Linked DNA regions of Homo sapiens: region 2 is linked to region 1. Evidence: promoter capture Hi-C in human tissues and cell types (Jung and others, 2019). All regions are on one chromosome and are shown on one strand. The core of a region is centred on a gene start or on the middle of the fragment in contact, and the rest is flanking DNA. Distances in the headings are between cores, read along the strand shown.

Evidence for each region. Contacts are between HindIII fragments. The study calls those that stand out against the background at their distance.
Region 2: a contact is called between a fragment that was not itself captured here and the fragment with the promoter of PRRT4 in region 1, in 5 of the 25 tissues and cell types used here (heart left ventricle, lymphoblastoid cells, mesendoderm cells and 2 more).

The regions. Positions count from the first base shown.
Region 1 is chr7:128,359,075-128,366,001 of GRCh38, forward strand. PRRT4 (proline rich transmembrane protein 4) reads right to left here and starts at 2,616. Exons shown (of 6, transcript NM_001174164.2): 1 at 2,487-2,616; 2 at 2,232-2,348; 3 at 266-989; 4 at 75-179. The coding sequence starts at 917. RefSeq lists enhancers at 1-813, 814-1,682, 1,683-2,551. The HindIII fragment of the contact is 21,921 bases long and covers 1-6,927 here.
Region 2 is chr7:128,325,193-128,332,119 of GRCh38, forward strand. It overlaps RBM28 (RNA binding motif protein 28), which reads right to left. Exons shown (of 19, transcript NM_018077.3): 10 at 5,627-5,736; 11 at 626-699. Among named protein-coding and RNA genes, the nearest start is that of RBM28, 15 kb to the right of the region's middle. The HindIII fragment of the contact is 3,986 bases long and covers 1-3,974 here.

The DNA.
Region 1 (6,927 bases), core at 1,366-3,865:
CTTGTTAGGCTCCTAGCACAGCGCTTGGCACGTAGAGTGTTCCACAATAGTTTATTGCAATGAAATAAACTCACCCAGAGAACCCGAAACTCCAGAGGCAGAGCTTGTGGATGTAGTTTCACCTGGGGGGCTCAGGCCGGAGAAGTTCCGGAGTGGGGACAGAGTAGTGCCAAAGAATCCTGCAAAAGAAGCCCAGGCTGAAGCTGCCTCCTACCTGCCAGGGGTGCCCAGCAGGGGCTTTCCTTGGGATGGGGTGGTTACTCACCAAAGGGTCCCAGGCGCCCAGCAATCTCTGCCAGGCTGGCCCGCAGGCTGGGCAGCAGGGGCAGCGTTCGATGCCCAAGCGTGGGGGCTGCACCTGCTCTCAGTGCCATGTCAAACTTCAGCTCCAGCTCGCTCTGGTGGGGCCTGGGAGCACTGGATGGAAGTGCTGTCACCATCAGAGCAGTGTCCCAGGTCACAGTGCTCCTCCTGGGCTGATAGGGGGCAGTGGGCCCATCGCTGGGCCCAGAGCGCCGGGATGTGGACTCCGGAAGCAGGGAGGAGGCCCGGGGCTTTGAGCCACCTTCGGTGGAGCCCCACTCAGTGAGAGAGTTCCCTGAGGAGCCCACCAGCAATTCCCAAAGGGGGTCAGTCCTCAGCCCACTGGCCACCTCTTCCCCTGGCTCCTGGCCTGGCCCAAGAGAGAGTGGCTGGGTCTCTGTGACTGGGCTCCCCCAGACAGCAGCAGGTCCCCGAAGATGGAATTTGAAGTTAAGTCCCAGGTTGAGAGACAGCATAGAGGCCTCACTTTGAGGTACGGGGGTCAAAGTGGTGGCAGGGGCACCTGGGATGGAGGGGGTGGGCTGGGGGCCCACAGTAGCAGCAAACAGGACGCAGCAGAACAGTCCCAGCCCTAGACAGCCATGCCTGGCCATGGCCCCACCTGGCTTCGGGTGGCCTTGGTGGGCAGGGACTCAGTTGTTCAGCAGCTTTTGAGGAGGAAGGTCCTGGAGAGAGGAGAGGCCCTGTGAGCCCTGGCTGTGGCCCCCCTCTTCCCTTTCCCAGGATCGGATGTCCCAGAGAGAGGCTTCTGATCTCAGAGAAGCAGGTAGTGTGGGCAGGATGCAAAGTGTCCTGTCCATGGCTCTGGCTCTTCTTGCCGGGCCCTTCCTGTACCTTCAGGCCCCAGCACAAATCCCTGCCTGGGGGTTCCTCCTTCCCCCTCTGCTCATGCAGAAGCTGGGGTCTGACTGCAACCAGGGGCCCTCATCCTTAACTAGTAGCAAAAGGGATGGACTTGGGCTTCCAGACATGGATTCCTCTCTTCCTTCCCTCTGCTGAGCCTCAAGTCTTTACGCAGGCTTACCGTTTGCCAAGCACCCTTCTGGGCATATAACTGTGAACAAGCAAGCCCTTCCGATGTCTTGACCTATTCCAACCCCCACCTCCCGCCCCAGCCAGAAGTGCTGGCGCCCTCACTCTCAGACCCCAGGGGGCACAGGGCCTCGGGAGGGGTAAAGCCAGAGCTGAGTGATCTGGCCCAGTCAGAAGGCCGCCCAGGCTCTGGCCAGAGAAGCAAGGTTCCCAATCTGGCAGAAGCACCCTCCCTCCCGCCCCTCCCGTTTCCTGGGGCTGGGCCTGTTCCCTTCCCTAGGACCCTTGAAGTATTCGGGGGAGGGGCAGCTTGGCGATCTCCGGCTTCCTGGAGGAGAACGCCAGGCAGGCAAGCTGGGCGAACTGCAGGCAGCTGCGGCGGACTCCTACCCCCTCCCCAGAACTCTCTCCTCTGTGCGCACACATCTGGTGGGGGAAGGGAGGGTGAGCCAGGGACACACATGCACCCGGCACCCTTACATCACACACATAGCCACATCTAGCGCCCGTGACACACTCACCCGTCACATACCCCCCTGCCCCTGCACGCGCGCGCGCACACACACACACACACTCCGTCCTGCCGAGCCACTCTCCTCCCTGCATGGGTTCAAACCCAAGCTCTGTGAGCCCCCGGCCTCCCCTGTCTCTCTCTCTCTCTCTCTCTCTCTCTCACACACACACACACACACACACACACACACACACACGGCATGTACTGTACAGAGATGCACACCCCCTACACACATTCACACACACAGACATGCCACACACCGCCATCCCCCCACACTCGTACACGCCCACCACCCCTCGCAGGCACACATGCACACACGCGCGCGCACACGCACACACACCCCCAGCCCGGACCGGCCGACCTGCTCCCCGGGGTCTCTCCCGCAGGCAGGTCTCCTCGCCGAGCCTCCGAAAAGGGGCGGTCGTGGCGGCCCTGGCGCCCAGCTGGGCAACGCTTCGTGGTATCTCACCGCTTCTCTCTGTTGTGCCCAGCGCCCCGACTGAAGATCCGGACCTCCAGCCCCCGGCGGCCCCTCGCCTAGTCCAGAGACCGCAGCCTCGCCGCCCCGCTGCCCCTGAGCCGCCCCCGGCCCAGCCCCGGCCCGCAGCGCTCTCACCAGGCGGGCGGCCAGGCCCCGCGCTCCGCACTCCGCACTCCGCGCTCCCTCCCAGCGGCGCCGCCTCCTGGCTCCGAGCCTCGCTCCCCGGCGAAGCCGCCCGCGCCGGGGCTCCGCGGCAGCCGGCTCTGACGGCCCTCCCGTCCGCCCGCCCTCGCTCCCGCGCCCTCTCTCCTCCTCCTCCTCCTCCTCCTCCCACCCAGCCCGCCACCCGCGGTCCCCCCACACCCGGGCGGGCAGGCAGGCGCTCACAGCAGCGCGGAGCCGCGGCCACCTCGGTGCCGGGCGCCTCCACGCGCGCTCATTCACCCAGCGCTGTCAATCAGCCGCGGCGGGCGCCTCGCTGTGAGCCTGGCGAGAGCAATCACACACTCCCAGGGCGGCCCAGCACACACATCCACACGCGCGCCAGGAAACACACTCGCAGGTCAGAGGGCGCGCGCACACACGCGCACACATGGCAGCCTGCCCCAGGATGGCACCCCGGGCAATAAGAGTCCCACCGTTTGCTAAGTAGAAGTACAATGGACAATTCTACTTCCTTTATCTCATGAGTCCTCACCGCAACCCTGTGTATGTCGCCACTTTGCAGACAATTAAATGAAGACACAGAAAATTACCGAATTTGCCCAAGATTGCACAGCTTGGTAGAAACTCGAACCGTCTCCCTGCCGGCCCTCTCCACCACCTGGTGGTTTTCAACAGTTGCACTGCTACACAGCAGTGCCTCCAACACTTCACCGGTGAACTGCCAAATGCCAATCCCTGTGTGACATGTCTTTTCGCTAAAACTGATCTCTCAAAAATACTGTTTCAGAAATGTCTGCCAGAAAGAATGGTGAGCTAAGCTGCTTGTGAGAAGTGGATTACAACTGGTTTCTAGTAAGAGGTGTGAGGAGAACAGTAAAATCAAAGGCTGGGTTCAGTGGTTCACGCCTGTAATTCTAACACTTTGGGAGGCTGAGGCAGGCTGATCGCTTGAGCCCCGGGGTTCAAGAACAGCCTGGGCAACATAGCAAAAGATAAAATAAAAACAAACAAACAGCAAGCAAGCAAGCAAGCAAGCAAGAAAAAAAGAAGAAAGAAAGAAATTATCTGGGCGTGATGGGGTATGGTGGCAGACACCTGTAGTCCCAGCTATTTGGGAGGCTGAGACTGGAGGATTGCTTGAGCCTGGGAGGTGGAGGTTGCCGTGAGCTGTGATCATACCGCTACACTCCAGCCTGGGCAACAGAGCAAGACCCTGTCTCAAAAGGAAAAACAAAGAAAAAAGAGCGTGCCCCTTCACAGAAAGTAAGAGAGCTCAGGCAAAAGCTGACACAGGTTGAAGATGACCAAGAAAACCGAGCAGTCACTATGTATACTTCATGGAACCTGTTAAGTTGTAGTAGTGACTAACTGAAGTACTACTGACTCATTCATGTGGTTTTGAGTCTCTAAATCCCTTCATGTTTTCTTCAAACAATGATAGTAATTTAAAAGTATCAGAACATGAAACACTTCTGTCTCCCTGCACCATTTAAAACTTTCCCTCAAAATCTAAACATCCAACTGTGTGCCAAGAATGATGGTGGATGCTTTATAAGAGTCTCCTTACTTATTCGTCACCACGAGCCACAGAGACAGAAAAATTATTGTCACCATGTTATAGCCTTTTATATGACCCTGAATTCCCTTTCCATCTATATCCCTTCTCTTCTTCTCTTGAAGGTTGTGGCAGTTGCAGGGTGTGGGGCGGCGGGGGGCGGGTGCTGGTGTTGCTTAAAGAGTTACCTAGGGCAGATTCTGTCTCAGTAATTGAGAGCTAGCTTAGCACTTTGTGGATATGGTCCATGCCTATTTGATAAGTGAATAATGATGAATGGTTCTGGGGTCCATATGGGCAATGGGTTGCTTTTCAGAAAGGCATCTTCCTTATCACAGAGCCCCGCCAATTCATGTAAAATCAAATCAGGCCACCAACTGAACTACTCTCAGGGCCATCAACGATAAAGTCTGGGATTTATTCCAGGTCCCTTAACAAAGCATTGCAAAGGACATCTCCAGATGCACCCCCAGGGGTTATCATAACCTGCCCCCACCCCCAAGTCCATTAGGGGCTGCCCGGAGGCTGCAAACTGGGATTCAGCCTCTAATTTTCTCTCATATGCTTAATAAAAGTTATCCTACTGGAGACATTTTCTTTGAATCCTCCTCATAGAAAAGCCCATTTCCTGCTAATCATGTTCACTTAAAGACTTCTAAGTGGAAAGACAGAAATAAACATATCCCAGTACATTAAGATAGCAATCCTCCATGACCCAGTGGGCTTATTCCCAGGAATAATTTTTAAAATATATTGAAAAAGGAAGTAAGGGTTCTGGGTTAAGATGGTAATTGAATGTATATTCAATTACCTCCCAAAACCCCACTAAAACTCCAGTAAAGAGATTTTCAAATCAAGAGATAAACCTACAAGGATGCAAAGACCAGGAAAGGAGACAATAGCAATAGTATTTTTGAGACAGGATGGCAGGCAGTCATGGGGTTACTGACTTACCAGCCCCGAGGAAAAAAACATCCCAAACTGGCAGTGGGGAAAACCAAGAGCCAACTTGATTTACATTGCAAGGCTCTCAGAAGGCACAGAAACTGGCATTCCAAGGTATCTCCAGAACTACGGGAAAGGTTGCTAAAGTAGGGACTGAGCTGAAATACAGTTAGGTCCCTAGACCTCTTCCCTAACTCCAAACCACTGGGCAACAGTCTTTCTCATATCGCAAGAGTCTGGAGGATTTTCCTCTGAGGAAGGTAAGATTGAAGGTATCTGGACTGGGGAAACTTCCGGCACAGTTGTGAACAGATAAGCCAGACTGAAAATGCTGAAAATGAGGGGATTAAGTGACCAAGTCATATTGAATGCTGAATACAGAAACCCTGAGCCTTCTCCCAGAACTGGTTCCCAAAGTCGTAGGAGCAGGACATTTGCTTCCAGGCTGGAGACTAGAAGATTCTATACTGGGGCATTTTACCAGCCTAAGAGGAAAGATCTAAAGATTCTGACATGGGGGTTCTCCAAAAACAACCTAGTTAGATCACCCTACTGTAGCAAACCCAACATGTGAGCTTGGAGTTTCCCACCAACCTCCTACCCCCATCCCTCAACCTTAATCATGACCAAAGATTACCAGACATGCAGGACATTTTCTAACACAGAAGTGAGAGACAAAACAATCAGAAAAAGTAACTTAGAGAAACAAGTTATACAAAGAGAAGAGGGCACCAATAAGATCATTGTTAATATCCTCAGAGATGTGAGAAGATACTGTATCTATGAAACAAGGATAAGATGCTATAGAAAGGAACGTTCAGAGAACAGTAACAGTCTTGGAAAATAAAATAATGACAGCATAAGCCAGGCACAGTGGCCCCATGCCTGTAATCCCAGCTACTCAGGAGGCTGAGACAGCAAGACGTCTTAAGCCCAGGAGTTCAAGACCAGCCTGGACAACATAGCAAGACCATCTCAAAAAAAAAAAAAAAAAAAAAAAAAAAAAAAGATCATGACAGCAGAAATAAAAACCCTCAATAGAAAGATTAGAAGATAAAGTTGATTAAATCTCCCGAGGAAGTAAAGTAAACATACTAAAAGATAGAAAATATAGGAGAGAAAAGATAAGAGCATTAAAAGATAATTCCAGGAATTCAGCATCAACATAAATGTTCTAAAAAGAAAAAAAGGGCTAGGTGCAGTGGCTCATGTCTGTAATCCCAGAATTTTGGGGGACCGAGGCGGGAGGATCACTTGAGCCTGGGAGTTCAAAACCAGCCTGGGCAACATAGTGAGACCTGGTCTTTCTAAGAAATTTTTAAAAATTTGCCGGGCCTCGTGGCACATGCCTGTAATCCCAGCTACTTGGAAGACTGAGGTGAGGATTAATTGAGTCTGGGAGGTGAAGGTTGTAGTGACCCATGATCACACCACTCCACTCTAGCCTAGGGGACAAAGGGAGACCCTGCCAAAAAAAGAAAGAAAGAGGGAAGGAAGGAAGGAAGGAAGGAAGGAAGGAAGGAAGGAAGGAAGGAAGGAAAAAAAGAAACAAAGAAACAAAGGAAAGAAAGAAAGAGTCCTGCATCAAGTTGATCATTGACACTTCGAATGCATTTGTGGCTCTGGGTTCCTCCCAGGGCTATTAAAAAAATGAAAAATGATGAAAGAAAACAAACTGAAAAAAATAAAGAACCAGAGGAAAATGGAAGAGAGAAAATAATCAATTATCGAATATGAAGAAATTTTCTAGAACAGAAGGACACAAGTTGCTAGACCATAAAATGGTCCACCAAGTCCCCAACACTGTAGATTAAAATAAACCCACACCAAGACAAATTAAAGAGAAGAGTCTAGAAATTTCCAGATAGAAAGACAAAAACATAACATACAAAGACTCAATTATCATAAATG
Region 2 (6,927 bases), core at 732-3,231, 35 kb before region 1:
AATATTTAGTATAGCTGTGCAAAAGGCCACATGTGTATTTCAGGCAGTCAGCAGTAAAGAATTTATTTTCTGGGAGTTGATTAGTCCCAAAGTAGACCCAAACTGAGGAAAATTATCTGTAACCAGGCAAATGTCTAGTATTGTAAAGTAAGCTAGTGAAATAGTAGAGTACTTACTCAAGAGGACTTAAGAAATAACAGCAATATTAGATAACATTATACTCGACTATAGAACAAATGGAGTAATTCTCCATCACCCACACACATTCTCTCTCAAACATCTACTCTACTTCACAGACGACCTTAATACCTCATCCTAGTCTTTCATGTTATCAGTCTAGGATAGAGGCTGACACAGACAGCAAGCAACAAATATCAGATACGTTATTATCCCCTTTTCCTCACCTATGAAGTAGAGATCATAATTCTGCCTACCTCAAAGGGCTGATGTAATGATTAAGATAATGCATGTAAAGTTCAGTGCCTAACACAAAGTGCTAAATAAGTGTTAGTTTTATTATTACTGACAAGAAAAATAATAATAAAGCTTTGTATAAATACCAGATGTTGCCCCTAAGAGCCAAACTGCCTCCTGTGTTATAAGGTAAAGGAAATATCTTCCTTACCTCATTCTCTGGAGAAGCAGCTAGAAGGCATTTCTGAGCTGCTTCTTGAGTCATGAACTGGGCAAATGCACAACCTGCACAAGGAGACACAATTCAGTGAGATCCCAAACTCCCACAGATAAACCAAAGACAACATTGCAAATGGCAACAGCCTGACACAGAGTGGAAGGGATAGGTGGCATCCATTTATTAAGTACAGCCATGTAGCCGGGTGCAGTGGCTCACACCTGTAATCCCGGCACTTTGGGAGGCCGATGCGGGCAGATCATGAGGTCAAGAGATCAAGACCATCCTGGCCAACACAGTGAAACCCCGTCGCTACTAAAAATACAAAAAATTAGCCAGGCGTGGTGGCGGGCACCTGTAGTCCCAGTTACTTGGGAGGCTGAGGCAGGAGAATGGCGTAAACCTGGGAGGCGGAGTTGCAGCGAGCCAAGATAGTGCCACTGCACTCCAGCCTGGGCAACAGAGCAAGACTCCGTCTCAAAAAAAAAAAAAAAAAAAAGTACAGCCATGTACTTGCATAAGGACGTTTTGGTCAGTGACAGACTGCATATACAACAGTGGTCCCAGAAGATTACAATGGATCTGCCCTATACAGTTGTACCATTTTTTATCTTTTATACTGCATTTTACTATACCTTTTCTATGTTTAGAAATACTTAGATACACATATACTTACCATTATGTTACAACTGCCTACAACATTCAGTATAACAACATGCTGTGCTGTACAGGTTTGTAGCCTAGGAGCACATATGACCTATGTGTGTAGTAGGCCATACCACCTAGGTTTGTATAAGTACACTATGACATTCACACAATGACAAAATCACCAAATAATGAACTTTGCAGAATGTATCCCCATCATTAAGTGACGCATATTGCACTATGACACAGGCACTATGTTAGGTACCAAATAATCAAGACAAAGATACCACTGCTCTTAATGAAATTTTATTATTACTTCCTTCATCTGTTCTAATTCTTCTTAGAACTTTAGTCTCATGATCTCTCTTAATAAGAAATATCCATGTGAAGGCTGGGTGTGGTGGCTTACACTTGTAATCCCAGCTCTTTAGGAGACCAAGGCAGGAAGATCGCTTAAGCCCAAGAGTTAGAGCCTAAGCAACATGACAAAACCCTGTCTCTACGAAAGAAAAAAAAAAATTGGCTGGGTGTGGTGGTGCATGCCTATAGTCCCAGCTACCGAGAAAGCTGAGGTGGGAGGATGACCTGACCTCGGGAGGTCAAGGCTGCAGTAAGCCATGATCACTGCACTACAGCCAGGGTGACAGAGCGAGACCTTGTCTCAAAAAAAAGAAAGAAAAGAAAAGAAAAGAAATATCCACATGAAATGGTAGAGAAATTCCAGCCTAACACTTAATTCAGCATCACTTATGAAGTACCTATTAGAGGACTAAAAAATAAAGCAGGAACCACTTAACCCTGAACTTAATTACAGATCTCACTGTCACACAGTCACTTGGGAGGCATCAGATATGGGCAGATCTGCTTCTCAGAGTAAAAGTCTCTGTCCTCTACTATATGAATATAGCAGGGAACCAGAAAGCCAGGAGCTCAATTCTTGGCTCATACTCTAGAATCTCCATAAGGCATGCCTTTCCTTGATTAGATGCAGGACCAATTAACCCATCTCTATTTCTGCTATTGACAAAAAAACAATTTTTTTTTTTTTTGAGACGGAGTTTCGCTCTTGTTGCCCAGGCTGGAGTCTAATGGCTCAATCTTGGCTCACTGCAACCTCCGCCTCCTGGGTTCAAGTGACTCTTCTGCCTCAGCCTCCCAAGTAGCTGAGATTACAGGCAGGTGCCTCCATGCCCAGCTAATTTTGTATTTTTAGTAGAGACAGGGTTTCTCCATGTTGGTCAAGCTGGTCTCGAACTCCCAACCTCAGGTGATCCGCCTGCCTTGGCCTCCCAAAGTGCTGGGATTACAGGTGTGAGCCACTGCACCCGGTCAATAAAAAACAACTTTTATAAGCAAAGAAAGTAAGTTTACCTTTCAGTAGATTCCAAAAAAGAAATACAAGTTTCATAATTTTGTTTAGTATTCCTTTAAATTTTAAATATTCTCTCAGATGCTGCCATATTTCCTAGAGCTAGTGGGGGCATTGATCTTCTGCCTCCTATAAAAATGAATGGCACAGACTAACTGAAAGGACACATGCGCCAGGCCAACACAAAGGTCACCATCTAGAAGCTTCTGTGTCCCCTCCTGCCTCCTATCTTCCACTCACATCTTTATTATAGCACTACTCAGGTGACATCTTCCCAAACAGAATGAATACCTCAGGAAAAATGACCACAATTCTTATCTGTTTCTATATCCCTAGCACCTACTATAGTGTACAGCATTAACAGATACTCAATAGAAAGAAACAAATAAGGAAATATGGGGAAAATGTTTCTAATAGGCAGATTCAAATGAATCTAATTAGATTGAATATGAAGAAAATGGGTGCTTCTCTCTGAATGGGTAAGAATTTTATCATTGGAGTTTCCAGAGTCAGTACTGGGTTCAGTCTTAACATTTCCCTAAAAGACTGCAGTTAATACTTAGCTCTTCCAGGTAGTGAAATGGCATGCTGAGAGGGATAAACTACAGGAGCAGCACGAGGCTGCATGAGTAGGCAAAAAAGGTATCAGAAAAATTTAATGAGCTAGGGAAGGACAATACATTTTTTTTAAATGATTAAAACTATGCTTATTAAGATCATGAACTCTGTTAACATTAATAGACCGCAAGGGATATCTAGTCAGTCAATTGTAGGCTTCATTCTAAAAGTATTAACCCAATATACTACTGCACTAAAAAAGAGACAAAAGATACTACCACCAAAGTAAAGCAATATCATACCACTAACTTGGAACATTCTATGCAATTCAAATTGTCTAAAAACATTTTAGAAATGGAAAAGATCCAAGTAGTATAACTAAACATGAGAGCTGCAGGTACCTTAAGTGATTACTCAAACCCACTCATTTTACAGATGAAAACCTGAAGCCAACGGTAGTTAAATGATTTGCCAAAAATCACCCAGTCTATCTGTAGCATAGCTGGGATTAGATCTCTAACTCTGTTCCACAGTGCTGCCTTATTCACATCTTTTTTTTTTTTTTTTTAAAGAGATGGAGGCGGTCTTGTTCTGTCTCACAGTCTCGAGTGCAGTGGCAATCATAGCTCACTGAAGCCTCTAACTCCTGGGCTCCCCGCAGCCTCCTGAGTAGCTGGGATTTCAGGCACACACCAGGTCTTAAACTTTTTTTTTTCTTTTTGAGACGGAGTCTTGCTCTTGTTGCCCAGGCTAGAGTGCAGTGGCACGATCTCGGCTCACCACAACCTCCCCCTCCCAGGTTCAAGCAATTCTCCTGCCTCAGCCTCCCGAGTAGCTGGGATTACAGGCATGCGCCACCACGCCCGGCTAATTTTGTATTTTTAGTAGAGATGGGGTTTCTCCATATTGGTCAGGCTGCTCTTGAACTCCCGACCTCAGGTGATCCGCCTGCCTCAGCCTCCCAAAGTGCTGGGATTACAGGCGTGAGCCACCGCTCCCGGCCAGGTCTTACTTTTTTTTAGCTGAGTAAAAATCAAAAGTGATTAGGTTCTATCAATGTGAAAGATAAAAAGGCTTAGAATGGAGGTAGGTTCTTAAGCTGTGGATAGGCTCAAGAGAGCCCACACAGCCTCCGAAGCAGCATTTTTCTAAGGAGAGGATTCACAGCTTTTGCTAGATCTCAAACGAATCATGAATCACAATAAATTAAGAACTTAACGCCGGGCGCGCCTGTAATCCCAGCACTTTGGGAGGCCAAGGCGGGTGTATCACAAGGTCAGGAGTTGGAGACCATCCTGGCTAACACGGTGAAGCCCCAACTCTACTAAAAATACAAACACAAAATTAGCCGGGTGCAGTGGTGGGCACCTGTAGTCCCAGCTACTCAGGAGGCTGAGGCAGGAGAATGGCGTGAACCCAGGAGGCGGAGCTTGCAGTGAGCCGAGATGGCGCCACTGCACTCCAGCCTGGGCAACAGAGTGAGACTCCGTCTCAAAAAAAAAAAAAAAAAAAAAAAAAAAGAACTTAGTGCTTTAGGAGAATGACTGCAATAGGTGAAATCAAAGATTATGAATGGGTTGGAAAGATGTTTACCTAACAACAGTATACTAGAACGAAGAATGGTCAATGCTTAAAACTCAAAAGAAATAGCTTTTGGAAAAAAAAAGAAATCTAAGGCAGCACTCCTGCAACATAGAGTTTTCCTTCTAACGGCTGACACTGCAACAGAGTTTTTCTGTCAGCTTCTACCTCTAACAAAAGCAACAGGAAAAAAAAAGATCCTGGTAATTTCAAGCAATGTGGAATGATTAGTACCTATGAGATACTATCACATTTGAAATGCAAAGAGCAAAAATGGAATTCATTACCCTAAAGTAAATAAGCAAGGGATTAAAAAGCTTAGACAAAATTATGGCTAGCAGCACCATTAAAGATGCTGAGTGTGACACCATTAAAGACCAGGATGTCCCTGGTCCTTTTTTTTTTTTTTTTTTTTTTTCGTGGAAACAAGAGTCTTGCTCTGTGGCTCAGGCTGGAGTGCAGTGGCATGATCTCGGCTCATTGCAACCTCCACCTCCCGGGTTCAAGCAATTTTCCTGTCTCAGCCTCCCAGGTAGCTGGGACTACAGGTGCACGCTGCTAATTTTTTGTATTTTAGTAGAGACGGGGTTTCACCGTGTTGCCCAGGCTGGTCTCAAACTCCTGAGCTCAGGCAATCTGCCTGCCTCAGCCTCCCAAAGTGCTGGGATTACAGGCGTGAGCCAGCGTGCCCGGCGTCCCTGGTACTTTTATAGAACCCAGAAACCTGGGCTGGATGGACTGTGAACCCCTCAAAATGGCACACATTATGCTCTCGTAACCTAGTCAGTGCCCACGGCAGTGGTCTCAACCCTTTTAGGGCCTGGCCAGCTGACAACACATACCTTTAGAATGCTCTGTGTCTGGATGCAAGACAATGCGGACATATTTGAGTTCTCCAAACTGTTGGAGAAGCTCCCCAAGTTCTTCTTCTTCTGAGTCAAAGGACAGATTTCTATGGAAGATAACCAGATGATCACAAGAAAAGTCAATTACATAAGTGAGATCCTATGTTCCAGGACAATGTAAGTGAGTTAGATATCAACTCTCCCTTGTTCAGAAATAGCACTAATACATAGGGATGGCCCCCAGTGACCCTTGGCCCCAACTGACTTTCCTTTGTCAATGAGGTTCTCTTTCTCAGGAATCTGAAAACGTAAACAGACACATACAAAGACCAGAAACTGCAGGTAAAGATTCATTTCTAAACAGCGGTGCCCCCCACTAGGGAAACTTCTGGGGTGCTGGAAATTTCTACATCTTGATCTGGGTGGTGGCTACATGGATGTATACATATAAAATTTTAACTGAGCTATATGCTTAGATTAATGTACTTTACAGAATCTATGTTATACCTTAAAAAAAAAAAAAAAAGTGGTGTCCCCAGAGAAAAGACCCACAGCCTCCATCACCTAGGGCCCCAGAACTGCCCAGATTTTCACCCTCTTCCTGAGGCTTGCTCTTTGACAACTTTGATTCTGAAACCCTCTTTTTCCACTTAAATTGACCAAAATTCATTTCTCTTACTACAAACTAGAAGACTCACAGCAGACTAGTGAGAAAAGTCAAATTATCTCTCTTAATTAGCCATTTTTTCCTCTGTGTTGCTATTAAATCCAGGTTTCAATTAAAATCTTACTAAAGTCAGAAAAATCCCTCAAAATAGTAACACAAAAGCAAATACAGTAAAATTTACTAAGTTCAAAAAAAGACAACTACTTACTTCTCTCGATGGGATTAAAAAAATGTTGGAAGGAAATTTTGTTGTCCTAAAATTTCAACACAGTATAAAGATTCCTCATTTCCCCAACTATGTAAATCCTTCCAGGGGTAAGCAAAACAGTCCCTAATAAGTATCTGTAATTTTACTTCTCTTATATGCACTGAATAGCCCCATGAATGATTCTATTTCATGGATAACCCAGATAAAAAAGGTTTTCTGCAATAAAACATATCCTAGCTACATTATTTCTTTTAATTTGCCTTATCTAAGATAGACATAGTTTTCTCTCTTCCACCCCTTTATTTCCCTAAGTTCTTTATTAAAAGGTGTATAAGGAATGGTATCCTTAGTACTGAGGTCACAGGCTTCTTCTTCACTGTGACATTTCTTCCTTCCTGTTAGACAGATCCTCCGCAAATACAA